Regions from separate parts of the Homo sapiens genome. Here all the other regions are linked to region 6. The links are contacts of gene promoters, found by promoter capture Hi-C in blood cells and fetal thymus (Javierre and others, 2016). All regions are on one chromosome and are shown on one strand. Each heading gives the region's core, a stretch centred on a gene start or on the middle of the fragment in contact. The rest is flanking DNA. Distances are from core to core; before and after follow the strand shown.

The links. The method cuts DNA at HindIII sites, captures the fragments that hold promoters and counts their contacts. A CHiCAGO score of 5 or more calls a contact.
Region 1: a contact is called between a fragment that was not itself captured here and the fragment with the promoter of OPRD1 in region 6, in 2 of 17 cell types (naive B cells and M0 macrophages). The highest score is 5.1, in naive B cells.
Region 2: a fragment that was not itself captured here is called in contact with the fragment with the promoter of OPRD1 in region 6 in 2 of 17 cell types (total CD4 T cells and activated CD4 T cells); the score reaches 5.8 in total CD4 T cells.
Region 3: a fragment that was not itself captured here is called in contact with the fragment with the promoter of OPRD1 in region 6 in 4 of 17 cell types (M1 macrophages, naive B cells, naive CD4 T cells and 1 more); the score reaches 5.6 in M1 macrophages.
Region 4: a fragment that was not itself captured here is called in contact with the fragment with the promoter of OPRD1 in region 6 in 1 of 17 cell types (megakaryocytes); the score reaches 5.2 in megakaryocytes.
Region 5: a fragment that was not itself captured here is called in contact with the fragment with the promoter of OPRD1 in region 6 in 6 of 17 cell types (non-activated CD4 T cells, neutrophils, naive CD8 T cells and 3 more); the score reaches 9.0 in non-activated CD4 T cells.

The regions. Positions count from the first base shown.
Region 1 is chr1:29,195,840-29,199,085 of GRCh38, forward strand. MECR (mitochondrial trans-2-enoyl-CoA reductase) reads right to left here. Exons shown (of 10, transcript NM_016011.5): 8 at 359-419; 9 at 102-174. Among named protein-coding and RNA genes, the nearest start is that of SRSF4, 16 kb to the left of the region's middle. RefSeq lists an enhancer at 2,438-2,938. The HindIII fragment of the contact is 3,116 bases long and covers 271-3,246 here.
Region 2 is chr1:28,396,549-28,400,067 of GRCh38, forward strand. All of the region lies in intron 1 of PHACTR4 (phosphatase and actin regulator 4), which reads left to right. Among named protein-coding and RNA genes, the nearest start is that of PHACTR4, 29 kb to the left of the region's middle. The HindIII fragment of the contact is 1,507 bases long and covers 932-2,438 here.
Region 3 is chr1:29,168,931-29,172,288 of GRCh38, forward strand. The region is part of intron 1 of SRSF4 (serine and arginine rich splicing factor 4); the gene reads right to left. It also overlaps a transcript of MECR not described here. Among named protein-coding and RNA genes, the nearest start is that of SRSF4, 11 kb to the right of the region's middle. The HindIII fragment of the contact is 921 bases long and covers 1,531-2,451 here.
Region 4 is chr1:29,082,372-29,085,812 of GRCh38, forward strand. All of the region lies in intron 16 of EPB41 (erythrocyte membrane protein band 4.1), which reads left to right. Among named protein-coding and RNA genes, the nearest start is that of TMEM200B, 40 kb to the right of the region's middle. The HindIII fragment of the contact is 1,200 bases long and covers 1,051-2,250 here.
Region 5 is chr1:29,214,548-29,218,003 of GRCh38, forward strand. MECR (mitochondrial trans-2-enoyl-CoA reductase) reads right to left here. Exons shown (of 10, transcript NM_016011.5): 2 at 2,041-2,138; 3 at 1,458-1,589. Among named protein-coding and RNA genes, the nearest start is that of MECR, 15 kb to the right of the region's middle. The HindIII fragment of the contact is 3,428 bases long and covers 267-3,456 here.
Region 6 is chr1:28,810,388-28,813,840 of GRCh38, forward strand. It overlaps OPRD1 (opioid receptor delta 1), which reads left to right and starts at 1,783. Exons shown (of 3, transcript NM_000911.4): 1 at 1,783-2,223. The coding sequence starts at 1,997. The HindIII fragment of the contact is 20,164 bases long and covers 1-3,453 here.

The DNA of each region.
Region 1 (3,246 bases), core at 579-3,078, 390 kb after region 6:
ACCCAATCACCCCTCCAGGGCTCAGAATAGCTGGTCATTTCTGCTGCCATTTTTAGGCACTGCCCTCATCTGTGACTCTTGGCACTGGGCCATGCACTCACCTGGACTGTGATCCTTCTTCCACTGGGACAACCAAAAGCCTCGAAGTTTGAGATCCTTAAAAATGAGCAGGCTCTGCAGACACAGGAAGGACATGCTGGGCTCTGAGGGCAAGAACTTCAGGTACCGCTTAAGGGTACAGACTCCCCTCCAGGAACGGGGCATTGCCTAAGCTTAGACAGCTGTCGTGCCAGGGGATGTGGCCTGGCTGAGGTGTCTGGCCCGGCTCCAGGCATGCCTCCCTCTGCACCCAGCTTACCACAGAGGCTACGACGGGCTGCTTGGCCATCCCCCCATAGGTTACCATGGTTCCTCCACGCCTGAAAAGTCCAAAGAGAACAAAGAGTGGATGCAAGGCAGAGACAGAGCCCTTCCTGAACCTGCCATGGCGCTTCTACTCCAACCCTGGTTCCTTTATAAACCCTGCTCTCAGAATCTCTGGGAAAGGTTGAAAAATACAGATTCCAGCTGGGAGCAGTGGCTCATGCCTATAATCCCAGCACTTTGGGAGGCTGAGGCAGGTGGATCACTTGAGCCCAGGAGTTCAAGACCAGCTTGGGCAACAAAAGGAGACCCCATCTCTACAAAAAAAGTACAGAAAATTAGCTGGGCAAGGCGGCATGCCTGTAGTCCCAGCTTCTCAGGAGGCTGAGGTGGGAGAATCACCTGAGGCCATGAAATTGAGGTTGCAGTGAGCCCTGATCGCACTACTGCACTCCAGTCTGGGCAACAGAGTGAGACCCTGTCTCAGAAAATAAATGAATGAATGAATAAATAAATGCATGCTGGGGATGGCAGCTCACACCTGTAATACCAGCACTTTGGGAGGCCAAGGTGAGAGGATTGCCTGAGCCCAGGAGTTTGAGACCAGCCTGGGCAACATAGTGAGACCCTGTGTCTATAAATAATAATAAAAAAAAATTAGCTGGGCACGGTGATACATGCCTGTGGCCCCACTCAGGAGGCTGAGGTGGGAAGATCACTTGAGCCTGGGAGGTTGAGGCTGCAGTGAGCTGAGATTGCACTGCTGCATTCCAGCCTAGGCAACACAGTGAGACCATCTCAACACAAAACAAAACAACCAAGAAACCAGATTCCTAGGTCCAATCCCAGACTCAATGAATCAGGAGACGAGAATGTATATTAAACACACACACACACCCGCTCTGGATGACTTGTATGTTTAGCCAGGATTGGGAATCCACTGATCTAACCCATCCAGTCAGGCTTTGATTAAGTGCTGAAAAGAAACATGCTCTCCCCAGATGAGCTCGAGGCCTGAGTTCAGCCTTGGCTCTGCTCTCACTTACAGGTGTCCGACCTAGGGTGATGCAGTGAAAATGGCCCAGACCTCATCTCTTCATCTGCCAGTGCTCATTCTAAGAATCAACGTGAGGAAACAGCTCTACAGATAAGGAATGATGTGGACGGTGCAGGGAACAATGACAAGCATCTTCTCACTGCAGGAGGTGCCTTCTCAGTACCTGCTGTCTGACACCCACACCCCCATGTCAGCTGACATACAGGATTGAGGCTAACATAATTTTTAAGTGAATAAGCCTGGAGTTCACTTGACTTAACCTATGTTCACCTCCCCACTCCCTGGCTCTTCTAGGAGTCTGTTGATTAAGGATGACCTCAGGCACATTTGGGGACAACACAAGGTAGACTTTCAAAACTACCAAATGGAAGGAGCTGCTGTCCTAGGGCAGGTACTTCTGTCCCTGAGGCTGCTGGGTAGTTTGGTCTTAAGTGCCCCTTGACTGCCACCTGCTGTAGAAAGTAGCTCCTGGGAGCCAAGCCCTCTCTCTTCTGTATCCCTGCTGCACTTCATCTAATCAGACTAGCTGACACTTACCAGGCTTCTACTATGTGCCAGGCACAGTTCTAAGCATTTTGCATGCACTGCCTCAGGGAATCCTCGTAACAACCTTGTTTTAGAGATGAGAAAGCTGAAGTCCATCCGTCATTTGTACAGCAATTTGTATATCGCCCAGTGTCCTTTAGACCAGCGGTCCCTAACCTTGTTGGCACCAGGACCGGTTTCATGGAAGACAATTTTTCCATGGACTGGAGTGGGGGAGATGGTTTTGGGATGAAACTGTTCCGCCTCAGATTCTCAGGCATTAGATTCTCATAAGGAGCATGGGACCTAGATCCCTTCCCTGCGTGCTTCACAATAGGGTTCACATGCCCATGAGAATCGAATGCTGCCACTGATCTGTCAGGAGGCGGAGCTCAGGTGGCCATGCTCGCTCACCCACCGCTCACCTCCTGCTGCGTGACCTGGTTCCTAACAGGCCACGAACTGGTACTGGTCTGCGGCCTGGGGGCTGGGGACCCGTGTTAGACCACCCTTCAGAGGCAGAGGGTTTATATAACCCCCATTTTACAGATGAAGAGACGGAGGCCTGGATTGTTTTTCACGTATTGCCTAACTTTCCACAGGCCCACAGCTAGTAAGTCACAGAGCAGGGGCTTGAACCCAGCCATTCTGGCTCCAGTGCCTACACCCGTAACAACGCTTCCCCCTGCAATGACATTGGGATTGAGGTCTGCCGCAGGGGTTGTCTGTCAGGTATAGGGCTGAAGCGGTGTGCTCAAATGTGGGGTCAAGCCTGGCTCTCCTGCTGCCTAGACTTTGGGACAGGTACTTGACCTCTTTGGGCCTTGTTTTTTTTTGTTTGTTTGTTTTTGAGACACACTGTTTCTCTGAAGCCCAGGCTGGAGTGCAATGGCACGATCTTGGCTCACTGCAACCTCTACCTCCTGGGTTCAAGCAATTCTCCTGCCTTAGCCTCCCAAGTAGCTGGGATTACAGGCACCCACGACCATGCCTGGCTAATTTTTGTATTTTTAGTAGAGACGAGGTTTCACCATGTTGGCCAGGATGGTCTCGAATTTTTGACCTCAGGTGATCCACTTGCCTCGGCCTCCCAAAGTGCTAGGTTTACAGGCATGAGCCACTGCGCCCGGCCTGGGCCTCATTGTTTAAAAGTATAAAACAGAGGTTAGAACTGCACCCCCTGTCTAGGTGGTTGTGGGAAGGGTAAGTCAAGCGCTGCACACAGTCTGGTGCATGGTGAATACTCACCACAGTGCTCTGGCCACGTGACTCACCTGCTCATCAAGCCTGTGAATTCTCAG
Region 2 (3,519 bases), core at 435-2,934, 410 kb before region 6:
TAAAGATGCGTGTAGATTACAGTATTTACTCCTTATATTAATGTAGTAGCATCTGAAGGTCACTCTAGAAGAATAGATACCTTATTACTTTCTTAATTTTCTCTAGTGATGTGCTTTTTTTTTTTTTGAGACGGTGTTTTGTTCTTGTCTCCCAGGCTGGAGTGCAATGGCGCAATCTCGGCTCACTGCAACCTCTGCCTCCTGGGTTCAAGCGATTCTCCTGCCTCAGCCTCCTGAGTAGCTGAGATTACAGGCTTACACCACCACGCCCGGCTAATTTCTTTCTTTCTTTCTTTCTTTTTTTTTTTTTTTTTTTGTATTTTTAGTAGAGACGGGGTTTCACCGTGTTGGCCAGGCTGGTCTCAAATTCCTGACATCGGGTGATCTACCCGCCTCGGCCTCCTAAAGTGCTGGGATTGCAGGTGTGAGCCACCGTGCCTGGCCGTGATATGCTTTTAAATCAAGTCCAAGAAAATGTGGAAATAACACTTTAGTTGTTCAGTCTGCCAATGTAAATTTAGGTTTCATTATCTTGATGGTGTTTTTAGACATTGTGTATTTTGATCAGGCTTTGAATCATGATAGAATTAAAAACTGCTTTTTTTGTTTTAGAACTGAAATGGAGGAGTGAGGTGAGCTTTAAGACTGCCAACTATATGCCAGGCACAGCCCATTTCTTCCTGTTTTATTTTATAATAAATGCTATTTCATGAGATTCTCATTAAAGATGAGTATTATTAATCCCACTTGAATCCCCAAAGACAAGAAGGTTAAATTATTCTGCAATATTATCTTTTGTAACCAAAATCATTAACCAGTTTGTATATGATTGATATTTGAAACTAACTTGTGCTAATTTGTCCAATGAAAGATAATGCAAGTTCTCTTAACCAGTAAACTTTTGTTCTTTTGATTTTTGCCTGGCTTGTTAAGCTTTCTCAGGAGGGAGAAGGTTATTTTGAATAACACGGGTCTAGCGTTACAGCAATTACCCAGAAAGGAATAGAAAAGGCAGAAAATAATTTCATTCTTGACGGTTTCCATCTGAGTAGATTAATTTATATTTGTATGTACAATCTGAGGCTATCTTGGACATTCAAAATGAAACAAGGAATGAAGCTATTATTAGGGTAATTGAGAAAAAAATAATTTTTGCTTTTTTTTTTTTTTTTGAGTCTTTCTCTGTCGCCAGGCTGGCGTGCAGTGGCGCAGTCTCGGCTCACTGCAACCTCCACCTCCTGGGTTCAAGCGATTCCTCTGCCTCAGCCTCCCGAGTAGCTGGGACTACAGGTGCGTGCCACCATGCCCTGCTAATTTTTTGTTGTTGTTGTTGTTTTTGTATTTTTAGTAGAAACGGGTTTTCACCATTTGGGCCAGGATGGTCTTGATCTCCTGACCTCATGATCCGCCCGCCTCGGCCTCCCAAAGTGCTGGGATTACAGGCATGAGCCACCGCCGCTGGCCTAATTTTTGCTTTTAATATCAAGTTTCTAGCCTGCAGTACATGCTTCTGTGTTTCTTTCACTGAACTGACCTAGCCACAGTTACCAAGTTGAGGAATTGATACATTCGAAGAGTTCTGTTAAAGGTGGGAAGAGGATAATATATTTTAGAATTCTCATATACCTATGTTAACACCACCAAGGCTGTGGCTGCCATTAGCAACAGCAGCATTAAATATCTGTTGGGTGGCTGGCCGGGGTGGCTCACGCCTGTAATCCTGGAACTTTGGGAGGCCAAGGTGGGCAGATCATGAGGTCAGGAGTTTGAGACCAGCCTGGCCAGCATGGTGAAACCCCGTCTCTACTAAAAATACAAAAAATTAGCCAGGCATAGTGGCATGTGTCTGTAGTCCCAGCTACTCAGGAGGCTGAGGCAGGAGAATCACTTGAACCCCACAGGCGGAGGGTTGCAGTGAGCCGAGATCATGCCACCGCACTCCAGCCTGGGCAACAGAGTAGACAGACCCTGTCTCAAAAAATAAAATAGGCCGAGCACGGTGGCTCATGCCTGTAATCCCAGCACTTTGGGAGGCTAAGGCAGGCGGATCGCTTGAGGTCAAGAGTTCGAGACCAGCCTGGTGAACATGGTGAAACCCTGTCTCTACCAAAAACACAAAAATTAGCCGGGCGTGGGGGCACATGCCTATAATCCCAGCTACTTGGGAGGCTGAGGCAGGAGAATTGCTTGAACCTGGGAGCTGGAGGTTGCAGTGAGCCAAGATCGCGCTACTGCACTCCAGCCTGGGTGACAGAGCAAGACTCTGTCTCAAAAAAGAAAAAAAAATTTAATTAATTAAATACTGATATTCAAAAAGAAGCACTTTTGAGGCAATAGTTTTATCAGATCTCAAATATGTATGTTTTGTATCCATCCTACTGGTTCTGTTTCTGAGAAGAACCCTAATACAGAAGGTATTCCGGAAGACACGTTAGCCAAGCTTGAGATTTAAAGGAATTAGCTGTGTAAAGAGGTAGGAAAGGCTGGGTGCGGTGGCTCACATCTGTAATCTCTGCACTTTGGGAGGCCGAGGCGGGTGGATCACCAGAGGTCAGGAGTTCAAGACCAGCCTGGCCAACATGGTGGAACCCCATCTCTACTAAAAATACAAAAATTAGCTGGGTGTGGTGGCACATGCCGGTAATCTCAGCTACTGGGGAGGCTGAGGCAGGAGAATCGCTTGAATCCAGGAGGCGGGGGTTATAGTAAGCCAAGGTCATGCCACTGCACTCCAGCCTGGGCGACAGAGCAAGACTCTGTCTCAAAAAATATATATATGATGAATAATTTTGTGTTGATGAAATTTCTGCTGTGTATAAATATTTTTTGAGTTTAGTATGTCTCTACTGTTAAGTGATATGGCATGATTTATTTCTTTTACCACTTTTCGGTATTCACATTGCCAGGAAACTTGTTCCTTTGAAGTTATTTGGTTTTCTCATGGCTCACATACGTCATGGATACTTACCTAATTCCATTTCTATTAATTTCTTGTTGGTCTCGGACTATGTAGTACTGTTTGGTGCTAGTGTTCATTTATTTATTCAGTAAGTATTTTCTTAGTACCTAGTGTATGCACCTTCTAAATGCAGGGATATAGTAGTGAACAGAACAGATAAAGTATCTAATGATACTTTCTAGATTGGGAGAGACACAATAAGAACTTAGGTAAGCATATCTATAGATAAATTACAGATAGTATACCATCAGATAGTGATACATTAAAATAAAAATAAAACAGGGTAAATGGATAGAATGTTTTGAAAAGGGGGTGCCAAGGAAAGGCCTCTCTGAGGGAGTCACACTTGAGTGACCTGAAATAATGGAGCAAATCACGCAGTTTCTGGGAAAAGAGCATTCCAGGCTGACTGAATAACAACTGCAAACCCTAGGGTAAGAATGTGCTTGTTATGTTACAGAAACAATAGTAAGCTCAGTATGGGTAAAACAGAGTGAGCAAGAGAAGTAGGAAATGTGGTCAGTGGAGCAGACAGGGACCAGGACATGTAGGATCTTATA
Region 3 (3,358 bases), core at 741-3,240, 360 kb after region 6:
GACTTTCAACTATACAAAGGTTAAAGCAGCAACCAGAAAAGTACCATGCAGATGATAAACATCTAAGATGTGATTTAATTTTCATTAACTAAAAACTATTTTTAACATGCAGCCCACTAGGACTCTTCTTCACATTTCTTTGTAATAATTACTACTCCTATTTTTGAAAGTTTTACGATGTATAAAGCATTATGCTAAGTGCTTTACACACATTATATCCATTTAATTTTCACAACTCTGAGGTTTACTGTCATCTGACAGATCAAGAAACTAACTTAGAGGAGTTGAGTAACTTGCCAAGACTATCCCAAAGACCTGGGATTCTTCACACCCAGCTAACCTAAAACCTGCATTCTACCACCACGTTTTAACCGCCTCCTATATACCAATGAAAAGTGGTCCATAAAACCAGAGTTGGAGAAACACAAGCTCTTGCACAGAAAATCAGTTTCATCAAATTATGTGCTGTAGTGTGGAAGACAAATGCCCACAGGAATATAAGCATCTTATGAGAAAGAGTAAGTGGCAAGAAAACACCATTTCTGCATGTGATGTGTGTGTGCTAATACCAGTAAGTTGTGAACATTTATTCTCTACAAGTGGAACCAAACCCATATGCCATCAAAATTTTAATACTAGTCTAGGAAAATAGAAAAAGGTAACAAATCATTAAGAAACTTATATCTCAGCAATGAGAACACAAATATATCAGTGGGAAAATTAAACTCATGATCCTTTCTCATAAAGTAAACCAACTGCTGAAAAAAAATCTCTAATGATGAACTAACCAAACTCAAGCCCATGGTATTGAGTCCACATTGCAGATAACAGCCCATCTCTAACAGAATATATATTCACATAGTAGGGTGAGAAAAACAGAACAATCATTATCCTAAACACCAAACAGTAAAACTAAATCCTCCCAGAATGGGAGGTAGAGAGGAATCTGCATCAAATATGAATTTAGTCTTACTCTGTAACTACTCTATGAGCCTATTTGCCAACTTTGTTTTAGCTATTCAAAACTTTCAAAAATGAACTAAGTCAGCTAAGGTATTTCACTTTTACACTGCAAATAGTTTGTGGATCAAACTATCATTACCCCCTGCAATCATAACTGAACTTTCTTTTTTGATATTTTAAAGTCAACATGGCTTTCCTGAAAGGGAGGGCAGATACAATCATCTGTGTCCATTTCAATTTTCTGACACTTTTCAACACTAAGGATAAATGAAATTGAAAGCTTTCAAAAAAGGGGAATCAACTATTGCCTGATGACAAGAAGTTCGTGAAGACTCAACCACAAATTAAAAACGATTTGAAAAAACTCGAGAGATGAAAGTCACATTACCAATTTAGAATAAAACTCTTGGGATTTAATATAGAATTACTTTATCTGTTATTCCTACTTAAAGAAATAAAGGTTTACACTCTGCAGACAGCACTACCTGATTCCACACAAAAGCTACAAACAAAACCAGTTCATACTTACCTCTTAAACAACACAATGAGCAGGCTGCCAGGTGTTAAAGCTTCATTAAAGATGATGCCTCTTGGATCATCTTGGCTGTATGAGGCACCATGTCCCTCATAATCGCCCCTGGTCCCTGGGCTGGAGTCTGTTTCTTCATTTTCATTTTTGGTTAAAGATGCCACTCCCTATGCTTTTATTAATTAGTGGATGCCACTAATTAAGTATTTTAATGAATTTTTCAAATTCTTTTAAAATGGATGGATCAATAGCTTCATTTCAATTACATGAAAACCTTTCCAAGTCCATGTTTCTGGTCTGTGGTTCCTGACTCCCTTGCCTGAGCCTCCTGCTCTGTCTGCCCTCTTCATTCCTGAAGGCTGAATTCAAACCTCCCTCTTTCAGACTTCCTCTTCTCTCTAGGTCTTGGGGGTCTTTGTTCATGAAGGTCCCCTTTCTGGCATAAAAACCTAAACCCATGGTTGGGGACCTGGGAGAAATAAAGTGCCTTTCAAGCGCTTCTTCAGACATTGCGTGCAGTTCAGAAATCTTTAGCCTGGGAGACTTTCATCTCAACACACAGAAAACTCAAGTAAAACATTTCCTCAAACTATGGGCATACAAATTCAGAGCATAATCTAATCCCTCACCTTCAGGGTACTATAAGACCAGACGGCCCTAGGAATGACAATAAGGCAGAGAACATTTACTTGTACAAATCCTTCCTCAGCCAACCACGATAAAGCTGATACCACCTTACAGCTTTTCAAAGAGTAGCCTGAGGAGGAGAATCACTAGCAGTCTCCAACTAAGGACAACATCATAAAAAATACCATCTGTCTCACTTTTGGCAGTAACTTGTCAGCTTGCTGGAAGCCTCTACAGAGACTAAAGGCTGAACAAGCCCGGAAACCTGAACTACCCTCTCACCCTCAGAGGCAATCCCCAAAGGACAGGACTAAAGGAAATAGCATGAGGGAAGCTTTGAATGTCAATGCCCACATGTATCTAGTATGGGAATTTAAAAAATCTTCTATTTCCGGAGTTGTCAATAACTCATTTTGTAACCTTGGGCCAGTCACCTTATCACCCCATGCCTCAGTTTCCCCATCAGTACAAACTAGGGACAACACTTGTTCATAAAGTACTTTGACATACTCAGTTGAAAAATAAGTCATACAAATGCATTAATATTTTCGGAAGTTTTAAGATTTCAGTGTTAGCTTACAAATTTGTAAGTATCACCCCAACGGTATTCTCTCAGATGCCTGGAGCACCTTTCTTCTGAGGAGCTCAAAGTAAAATTTGCGGTTCTGGGTACCTGGAAGCATAAAAAAATACTAGAAACCCAAACCACATTTTATTACCGAGTCTATATCCTGTGCCTATCTTTTAAGAAGGGACAAATACTTCGTATGGCCCTTAAATTCATACAGTACCTCAATGAGAAAGGAGGAGCAAAACAGTATATTAAACTGAAGAACAGGGATTTTAAATGACTTAGTCAAATAATTACAAATGATGTTTATTCATACCACAAACTGAAGGGACCAAGAACCAAGGAGTGGAGGTCTTGAACCAGGGCAATTTACGCTGTTAACATTTGGTCAAAAATCTCAATATGGTATTATCTCTTGGCATTGATTTTTCAAAATGACAGAAAAAAATTAAATTCCCCATATATTGGGGGAAAAAAATAATACACTTTTTTGGGGGGTAAGTTGACTTTAAAAAGTGACTTTTAATAAAAAAAAATTTGATCACATTTGTAATAGTTATATTACTAATAAAACAATGACAGAATGCTACTTAATTCATAGTCCTATCTCTATTTATTATTCATTCAAGAAAAACTTCCTGATTATTTTTCACTTGGTAAATTAGCAT
Region 4 (3,441 bases), core at 401-2,900, 270 kb after region 6:
CCTCAGCCTCCCAAAGTGCTGGGATTACAGGCGTGAGCCACTGGGCCTAACCTCAAGGTAACTGTTTTCTAGATATCAAATTTTCTTAAATGCTTATTATGACTTTAATCAATTTTTAGAACTGAGACTTCTGTGAAATCCAGCCAAACAAATTCAATTTTGTTCCATTCTAACTTCAGAGTTTTTGTACTGGTCATAGCTCCTTTTTCTCCACCTTCATCCCTCCACCCCTACCCTTCATAGTGTAATGAAATAAAACTGACCACCAAACGCTTCTGGTCTGTTAGACATGCTTAGTATAACCTTTAATATTTGCCCAAGCACTTTGACCTCTGTAGATCTATTCAGATTTGAGAACACTCATTTGATCTGTGGAGTCCTTGCTGGTGAGTGCAGTGTAAAGGCAAAATTTTCTATTACCTAATAGTTAAAATTTTGCATCCGGCATGGATTTTGAAGCTGTTTGCTTTTACGTTCACCTATTCTGGGGATAATCTAATAACAGCACTATTTAGGAAATTATAAAAACAATGTTTGACAGATAATTATCATTGGCTAATTTCATTTGCTGTCCTTTGTGAGAGGCTGCATTGTGGAATTATTTTCCTATCATAAGCAATTTTATCAACTCTAGTAAAGGCCCACATCTTCCGGAATAAGCCCCTTTATCCAGATTTTATACAAATGTAATCTTTATATACCAGAGAATAGCAATAGACTGTGAAAATGACTCTGAGTTTCATGGAGAAGCTAGTGAGCACTATAAGGATATATTTCTAGCTAGAAACTAATAGCATACAACCTTGAAAAAAAAAAGGCGAGAGAGGGTACATCCAAGAGAGAAAAATTAGAATGAAGAGAAATGTATTGCATGATAAAGAATGTCACACTAGAAAGGAAAGACAGAATTTTAACATCACCTTTTGCTAGCCCATGGTTACTCTGTTGTTAGTTTATCCCCATCTTGAGTGCTTGTGATTCTAATGTCCTTTTTCAAACTTCTAAGTGGCCTGAGTTGTCCACTGAAACTGTACAAAACTATTATTTACAAGCTTTTGGGGGTGGGAACCAGAGGATGTTTCTCCTTTCGGTAATTTTTGTTCTTCTGTCTTCATTTGTTTCCTTTTTTGGCTGAAGAATGGGCTCCTACTGCTTGACTTGTCATCTTTATGTGCTGTTTACACATGGCTTTTGCAAAAGAAGCCATTACCACATCTGATTTATCTTTTATTGCAAGTGCCCATTTAAAAGCATTTGTTTTAACTTAAAAAAAATTGTTTTAATCATCAGGCTAATGTGCCTACTGATTATTATACAACCTAGGGAAATGCTGATATAATTTTTCAAAATAGGAAATTACAAATATTAATATTAATGTATAAAGACATATGTTTTGCTCTTAAGAGGTTTTCCCCTAGGCACTTAAAGCCATTCTTTGCTGAGACTTAATCTTGTCATGTTTTGTTAAAGAGAAGAATATAGAAGCAAAGCACTCGCAATTAACTGATCTTATCAGGATTAAATTCTACATTTTTTAGTTTGCATGTTGTAGACCATCTGGGGGTATTACTTAAATACATTGTTGATAATTTAAGTGACTATGATATTTATTGTTTACTTTAGTTAAGAACCAGGAGCTGGACTCTTCTGCTGGGTATCTTCTTCTGTGCTTAGCAAGATAACCTCGATTCCTGCTGGTTCTGTGGTCATTTGCACTGCAAAGCATTTCTTACTGGGTTTGCAAAGCAAGGGTAATGTGCTCTGTGGGTGTATGTGTGTCTGTGCACCCTCATCCCCTATTCCCACTGCCATCTCTGTTCACTTCCTTTTACTTATCAAAACTTCTTTTTCTCAATCTATGTCAATCTTATTAAAAAGTTTAATGAATCACTTTTCCCAGACGTATAGAAACACTAATAAAAGTTTTATGTGTTAAATTTTCCTCACATATTTGCATTTCAGCAAGCCACAAAGTCATTGCACAGATGATGGTGACTGATTACAGCATTGGTTATATCATTAAGCAGTACTTACAAGGCCAGCCTTAAATCTCATTTTACTTGACAGAATGCAAAATAAAATGAAGATAATGTGGAAAACAATGGTATAGCTTAACGGATGTAGTGGATTGGGGATTACAATTGTGTAAAGTGACTGCAGAGGTATATGCTAAATCTCAGACTCTCATTTTGAGGAAAATTTAGTAATTTCAAGGAGCAAATGTGTGGGTAATAGCAATATAGAAAGATAAGCTTTGAGGCTAGAAACAGTAATAAATCTCTGACATTTTAAAATAGTTGTAAATTGTGTGACTAATCAGAAATATTCTATTTTCTTTCTTAACAGACAGTATGTATCCCAAAACTATCCATTATAAATGGTATTCTTCCTGAGGATCTTGGTTCGGGAATATTTATGAAATAGCCTCATAGTATACCCATTTTAATTCTCCTGTCACAATTTCTTTCTTCAAAGTTGTGATGTTCTCTAAAATATAATGAGGACCTGTTTGAGAACTTGCTAACAAAAGCTGAAAGGAAGCCCAATTTTAGTTAAATCCATAGGCTTGGCCCACTTCAGGAGTTCAAGAAACACCATGTAGGGACTTCCTGTCTTTATTGCTTTGGTTCACGTTACTTTGCAAAAAGTAATATTTTAAGAAATATAAATCATTCTGGATATGAATTGTGATGTGATAGAATCAATCTATAGTGTATATCACTAACCTAAAGTTATTGTTTAGATCAGTTTTGGAAATACTTTGATCTTCTTTTTTTTTTTTTTTTTTTTGAGTTGGAGTCTCACTCAGTTGCCAGGCTGGAGTGCAGTGGCATGACCTTGGCTCACTGCAACCTCTGCCTCCTGGGTTCAAGTGATTCTCATGCCTCAGCCTCCTGAGTAACTGGGATTACAGGCACCCGCCACCATGCCCGGCTAATTTTTTTGTATTTTTAGTGGAGATGGGGTTTCACCATGTTGGCCAGGCTGGTTTCGAACTCCTGATCTCAAATGATCCGCCTGCCTCAGCCTCCCAAATTGCTAGGATTACAGGCGTGAGCCACCACACCTGGCCAAAAACCACATTTTAAATCACTTTCCTGATAATATCGCTTCTACCTCTAAATCAGAAAACATTAAAATACAATGAAGCTACAACTTAAATTTGAAGTATTTCTTTTCCACCAGTTATACAGATATATTAAATTCATCATCATTGACTTTGACTTTCTTTTCTTTTCTTTTTTACCCCAAGTTTACAACCTCCACCTGCCAGGCTCAAGTGATCCTCCCACCTCAGCCTCCTTAGTGGCTGGGAATATAGGCATACACCACCACACCTGGCTAATTTTTTGTATTTTTGGTAGAGATGGGGTCTTGCCATATTGCCCAGGCTGGTCTCGAACTTCTGGACTCAAGCAATCTGCCCGCCTCGTCCTCCCA
Region 5 (3,456 bases), core at 731-3,230, 400 kb after region 6:
GACAGGGTTTCACCATGTTGGCCAGGCTAGTCTTGAACTCCTGATCTCAGGTGATCCACCACCTCGGCCTCCCAAAGTGCTGGGATTACAGGCGTGAGCCACCACGCCTGGCCCCAACTTCTTTTTTTAAAGCAAGTTTGAGCTGGGTCGCTGTAAGTTACAACCCAGAAGATCATAACACTGGTGTGTAATGGGAACCCAGGAGAAAGAATCCAGTGGGCACTCTCATTTTGCTGTTTGACTTTGGGCCAGGGCTTTACTTCTCAAGCTTCAATTTATGTCCAATGGATGGATAATACCTGCCCTGCTTCCCTCTTGTAGCTGCTGTGAGGATCAATAACAGACGTGCCTTGAAAACTGTTAAGTGCTAAAAACAAAACTCACCTATGACTCCTTATAATATATCAAACAAAATCCTACTCATTAGCTTGGCTTGGGCAGGGCCTTACCCCATGTGGACACAAGCTACCTTTTTAAAAAAAAATAGACAGGGTCTCACTCTGTTGCCCAGGCTGGAGTGCAATGGTGCGATCATAGCTCACTGTAGCCTAGAACTCCTGGGCTCACGTGATTGAACCTGCCTTTCTGGCCTTCTTTCTCACTCGTGCAATCCTCTCCCATATGCAAACCCTCTGCTGAGGCTACAATGGATTTTCCACCATTTCCCAATCTCACCTTTGTGTCTTTCCTCATTTTACATCCTCCACATGAAGTGAATTTTGGCTCATCTCCATGTATAAACAAAATTCAGACTCGGCACAGTGGCTCATGCCTGTAATCCCAGCACTTTGGGAGGCTGAGTGGTGGGTCACCTGAGGTTAGGAGTTTGAGACCAGCCTGGTCAACATGATAAAACCCCCTCTTTACTAAAAATACAAAAATTTGTCGGGCGTGATGGTGTACACCTGTAATCCCAGCTACTCGGGAGGCTGAGGCAGGAGAATCGCTTGAACCTGGGAGGCTGCAGTAAGCCGAGATCGCGTCACTGCACTCCAGCACAGGTGACAAAGTGAGACCCTGTCTCAAAAAAAAACAAAACAAGGCCAAGCGTGGTGGCTCAGGCCTGCAGTCCCAGCATTTTGGGAGGCCGAGGCAGGCGGATCCCTGAGGTCAGGAGTTTGAGACCCAGCCTGGCCAACATGGTGAAACCCCATCTCTACTAACAATACAAAAATTAGCCGGGCGTGGTGGTAGGCGCCTGTAATCCCAGCTACTTGGGAGGCTGAGGCAGGAGAATCACTTGAACTGGGGAGGCGGAGGTTTTGGTGAGCTGAGATCGCGCCATTGCACTCCAGCCTGGGCAATAAGAGCAAAACTCCGTCTCAAAATAAATAAATAAATAAAAAAAATAAACCCTGCATTACCCAGGTACACTCGGCCAATCAGTGGATGCCGACAGAGTGGGTGAAATAGGATCTGGAAGAACGAATAGGCAGCTGACACCTGGAGAAACTCACCTAAACCAGCATTTGCTGGAATCACCCAGTCTCCTGGCTTCAGCCCGGTCACATTGCTGCCCACCGCTACCACCTGTGCAACACCTTCGTTCCCTCCAACAGCAGGCAGTTCAGGAAGGAATCCGTAGTTTCCTGAGGGAGAAGAGCATTAAAGGGTCAACCAGTGATGTTTGGGCAGTGAAAGAGCATGGACTTGAGTCCACGCCATCCTAGGCCTGATCTGGGCTCTGCTTTGGACTGTCTGCCTAACCAACCTCTGAGCCTTAGCTTGCTTGTCTGTATAGGGGGACAATATTCTTTAGTGTTCATGGTTATCATGAAAATCAGGTAACATATGAAATGAAACCAGCATGTCGCAGGCACTTCACAATGCTTAGTTTACTCCCCACTGCAATCTTCTCAAAAAGCCACACATTCCAGAAAAGGGAGGCCAGACAGGGCTGACACAGCCTGCAGACGGCTCATCTGGAGAACAGCTGCTGCTAATCACAGGCATTTCACACCCACACCTGAGGAGGAATGAAAATGAGGTGGCAGCTGAACAAAAAAGCCAATTAACATAAGCCACAGAAACCAAGGTTACCTTGGATCATATTTATGTCAGATGGATTGATAGGGGCCGCCAGCATCTTCACACGGACATCTGATCCTCTCACAGCAGCTAGCTCCAGGTTCTTGAGTCTAAGCACAAAGCCAAACGGAGATGTTCATGTCATCCAGGCTAGAATGGGTGTTTCGCTCAAATCATCTCCTCAAAGTAGGTCAGGCAACATTTCTGAGCTGCCATGTGTGCCCAGGAATTACGGTTCTGTTATAAAAGAGAGGTACCATAAGAAATCAACACAGGAGGCTGGGCGTGGTGGCTCACGCCTGTAATCCCAGCACTTTGGAAGGCCGAGACAGGCGGATAACCTGAGGTCAGGAGTTCAAGACCAGCCTGGCCAACATGGTGAAAACCTGTCTCTACTAAAATACAAAAATTAGCTGGGCGTGGTGGTCGGCGCCTGTAATCCCAGCTACTCGGGTGGCTGAGGCAGAAGAATTGCTTCAACGTGGGAGGCAGAGGTTGTAGTGAGCTGAGATTGTGCCATCCAGCCTGGGTGACAAAGCAAGACTTTGTCTCAAAAAAAAAAAAAAAAAAAAAAAAAAGAAATCAACATAGGATAGAGGTTGACTCTCATTAACTGCAAGTGGAAAACCCACAGTGTTTTTTTTTTTTTTTTTAGACAGAGTCTCACTGTGTCACCCAGGCTGGAGTGCAGTGACACAATCTCGGCTCACTAAAAGCTCCGCCTCCCAGGTTCAAGCGATTCTCCTGCCTCAGCCTCCCAAGTAGCTGGGACTAGAGGTGCCTGCCACCACGCCCGGCTAATTTTATTTATTTATTTTTTTAGTAGAGATGGGGTTTCACTATGTTGGCCAGGCTGGTCTTGAACTCCTGACCTCGTGATCTGCCTGCCTCGGCCTCCTAAAGTGCTGGGATTACAGGTGTGAGCCACTGTGCCCGGTCTTTCAACCCCACTGCCCACTCTGGGACAGGAAACCTCTGCTGGCCTAGATGAGCCCTGTGTTTTCCAAAACTCGCTTAGTTATAAGAATTACCTGGTATGCTCATGGATATAAATTATCAGGCCCACCTCTGATCTACTAAGCCAGAATCTCCAGATGAGGGCACCCCAAGTAGTTCTTACCAACCGGGGTATCTTGGAAATCCCAGGCTAGCTGACATGTCCTCCACATGTTTGATTTTATTCTTGGTCCTAACATATACAGGGGAGAGGAGATATTTCTGTTAGTTGCAGAGTGTGGGCGTAATGGGGAGATGGCCTATGTAGTTCACAAAGAACTCCCTGGATGGCTGTGATTCACTCTGAGTGATGTCCCTTCTGGAGGAGGATTCTTGTCTGGCAGAAAAGACCCTGGGTGGAGGGCTGAAGGTCCTGGGTATAAAGCTCCACTGCAGGATGCCTGGGTCACCATGGGCAAGTTTCTTCTCTGC
Region 6 (3,453 bases), core at 533-3,032:
ATTGGCCCAGCCTTCCGAGTGGAAGGAATAGCATGTACAAATGTCCTGAGGTAGGAAAAAACTTGGCTTGGAGGGTTAGGGAGGGGACCAGAATTCCAATAAAGTAGCCCTCCTTCTTCCTATCCCAATTTCTCTCTGCTGGCACTAGAAAAGTTTCTGAGTACCAGGCCCTTTGGGAAAGGGAGAGAGTTTTGGCAGCAGGTGACCACAGCAAAAATCTTTCTGATAAGTCCTTAGGTGGTTGAGTGGGAAAGCCCTGGGGTGGGGGGCTTGCTGTAGTTGGTAGAAGTGGCTGGACAGCAGCTAAGTGGGGTGGAGAAAATGGAGAAGAGGGTGAGCTTGGGAATTCTGGCTTTGCTTTTTTCTGGGAAAGGGTAGGAGCCTTGCACATATATGGATGATTCAAGCTAGAGGGTGAGATGAGGGAGAGCTCCTTGTCCAGCCACACACAGATCCAAGAGCATTGCCCCAGAGCCTAGAGCTCAGAACCCCTAATATTGTTCCACTCCAGTTCCCTTTGGGATCTTTATTATCCAAAAAGTATTTCTTGAGCACCTGCTGTGACCCCAGCCCTCTCCTGGATGCAGGGGTCAATCAGACCTGGTCCCTTTAAGGAGGGAGACCAGTTCGGATAGAAATAATTACTATATGGGATAATTTAGTGCTGAGCACTAAATCTGTAACATGGGGACAATAATAATAGAAGCTACACCAAAGTGTTGGTGCATGGATAAAGTGCTTATCACAGTGCCTGGAGCAAAGTAATGCTTGGTAGAATGTTCTGGAAAGGCTAGGCACCCCAAGAAGAAGGATGGCTCTAATCTGGAATGGTTAGGTCTTGGAAGGGGTGTGGCAAGGATGACTTAGCCAAGTGCCCCCCTTCTATCTGCTCGCACTGCAGCCAGAGTGCTCCTTAAGGTGGTCTTCAAGAGCCTGCCCACCACCTCATCGCCCCCTCACTTCCTGCCTTCTCCTCTTCCTGGCTTCCTTTCAGTCCCTCTGCTTCCTTTATCCGGAATCCTCTTCCCTTGTTACTTCCTTAAGTTAGTTCTTCCCCAAACTTCACACCTCACCTCAAGTGTCGTTTCCCCAGGGAAGCTGTCCTGACCCCTGGGTTTTGTAGACCCTGCCACTTTCTCAATTCGTACCTATATCTTAATGTCATTTTAGGGTTGCTCGCTCTCTCTCCTGCACTGGGCTGTAAGCCCCAGGAAGCAGAGGCTGCATCTGGTTTTGTGTACTAGAGGGTCCCCCCAAATACCCGGCTCTTCTATTAGGCACCCTCAGAATTTTTGTTGAGCGAATGAATGGGGTGCAAGAAAGGCACGGATAATATAGGTTATTTACGGAGCATGTAACTGTCCGCAGGGCACTGCTCTAAGCTCTTTGTTCGAATCATTTTATTCAATCTCCCCAACCACCCTCTGAGGGAGGTGGTACGATTTTCCTCATCTCACAGACAAAGAGAATGAAGCTGAGGGAGGTTAAGTGACTTACACAAGGTCACTCCGCCTGTTAGTGCAGGGGCGGGAGGCGGGATCCACACCCAGGTCCCTCTGACACCAAAGTGGCAAGGGGGTGGGAGGGGAGTCCAGGTTGGGACGGGGTCGCACTCGAGCCGGCGGAGCATCCCTAGGGAGGGGGCGGGAGGCCTCCCCTGCCCAGCTCCGAGCCGGTGGTGCAGCGTCCGCCCCCGGTCGCGGGCGCAGACTGGCGGCCGCCTCCGGGCCACGTGGTGCGCGCGGCGGGCGCGTCCGAGGAGCCTGCGGCTGCTCCTGGCTCACAGCGCTCCGGGCGAGGAGAGCGGGCGGACGCCGGGGGCTGGGCCGGTGCGGGCGGCGAGGCAGGCGGACGAGGCGCAGAGACAGCGGGGCGGCCGGGGCGCGGCAGCCGGCGGCGTCGGGGCCGCGGCCTCTGCCTTGCCGCTCCCCTCGCGTCGGATCCCCGCGCCCAGGGCGCACGGTGGAGAGGGACGCGGCGGAGCCGGCCGGCAGCCATGGAACCGGCCCCCTCCGCCGGCGCCGAGCTGCAGCCCCCGCTCTTCGCCAACGCCTCGGACGCCTACCCTAGCGCCTGCCCCAGCGCTGGCGCCAATGCGTCGGGGCCGCCAGGCGCGCGGAGCGCCTCGTCCCTCGCCCTGGCAATCGCCATCACCGCGCTCTACTCGGCCGTGTGCGCCGTGGGGCTGCTGGGCAACGTGCTTGTCATGTTCGGCATCGTCCGGTGAGTCCGCTGCGGGCCGGCGCCGCAGGGCTGGAGCCCGGGGTGAGGGTGGGGATCACGAACTTGAGACCCCAAGCCCGTTCCCTGGACTCCCCGCGCCTCCGCATTTCCTGCAGGGGCACCTGGGGCCCAGCGAGAGGCGAGGCCACTTACATCGAGGGGAACACAGGAATGTGTGTCATCGTGTGTATGTGTGTGTGTGGTGCGGGGGGGGGAGTGCGCCGCGGTTGACTAAATTACATTTGATCATCTGTTGGCATCCCCTTGCTTCTTTGTGGGACAGTTTGGCGTCAGTTTGTGTGTCTGTCACAGTTTGTGAGTGGATGGTTGTGACAGTACAACTGTATGTTTGGACGTCGGAAACATGCCCATGGGGTGGGCAGAGCTGCTCTGAGGTGCCGCGGGCCTTTGGGGAGACCGGTGTGAGGGCACCGTGCAGGCAGGGCGGACAGGAGGGTGCTGGGTGTCAGCACCTCGCCGTGGGGCCCTTACCAAGTCATATTTGGTGCTCATCTGTTGGTGTGAGCTTGTCCCTAACGGTCAGTTTGTGATTCTGTCTGAATGTAACAATGTGACTGTTGTTTCTTGTCAAGCTCTTGAAACCCCGAGGGCGGCAGAGCATCCGGAGTGGCCGTCGTCCCTGTGTTTGTGCAGCTGTGTGTGCCTTTGCCAGTGATTCCTGGATAACATGGGCGACAGCTGTGGGCCGCCAACCGGTTCTCTGTTCCCTTCGCCAGTGCCCATCTGGTCAGGAATTCTGAATAGGATTCAGAGAAGACTCACGCCCTCCTCACAAATGCCCTCTCCCATTTTCTCTTTGCCTCCTCTAACAGTCTTTTCTTCTGCCAGAGGCAGCAGAGGTTGGTCTGGGCGGGAGTGGATTTTGAGTTTTCATCCCAGGAAGTGAGGTGCTCTTCTTGGAGTTTATGGAGAGTGCTGGGACCTTCTCAGAGAGCCTAAGACGTCAGCTTGCCCCAGAAGTAGCCCTCCTGATACAGCCCCACAAGCTCAGACATGGCCAGTAAGGGTTGAGAGGAAAATTTCCATCTTTAAAACAACAAAGATGCCCTCGTATTTGCTGTTAGTTGAAAATGGGTCCTTCATGCTGGTGGACCAAGGACATGGCCCTAAACCTCTCTGGGCTGTGGGTGCCACCATGCAGGGCATAGGTCAGGTCGTGGACTCAGAGGTTAGAGAGATGAACTGTAGTCTCAGCCTAGTCATGGATGC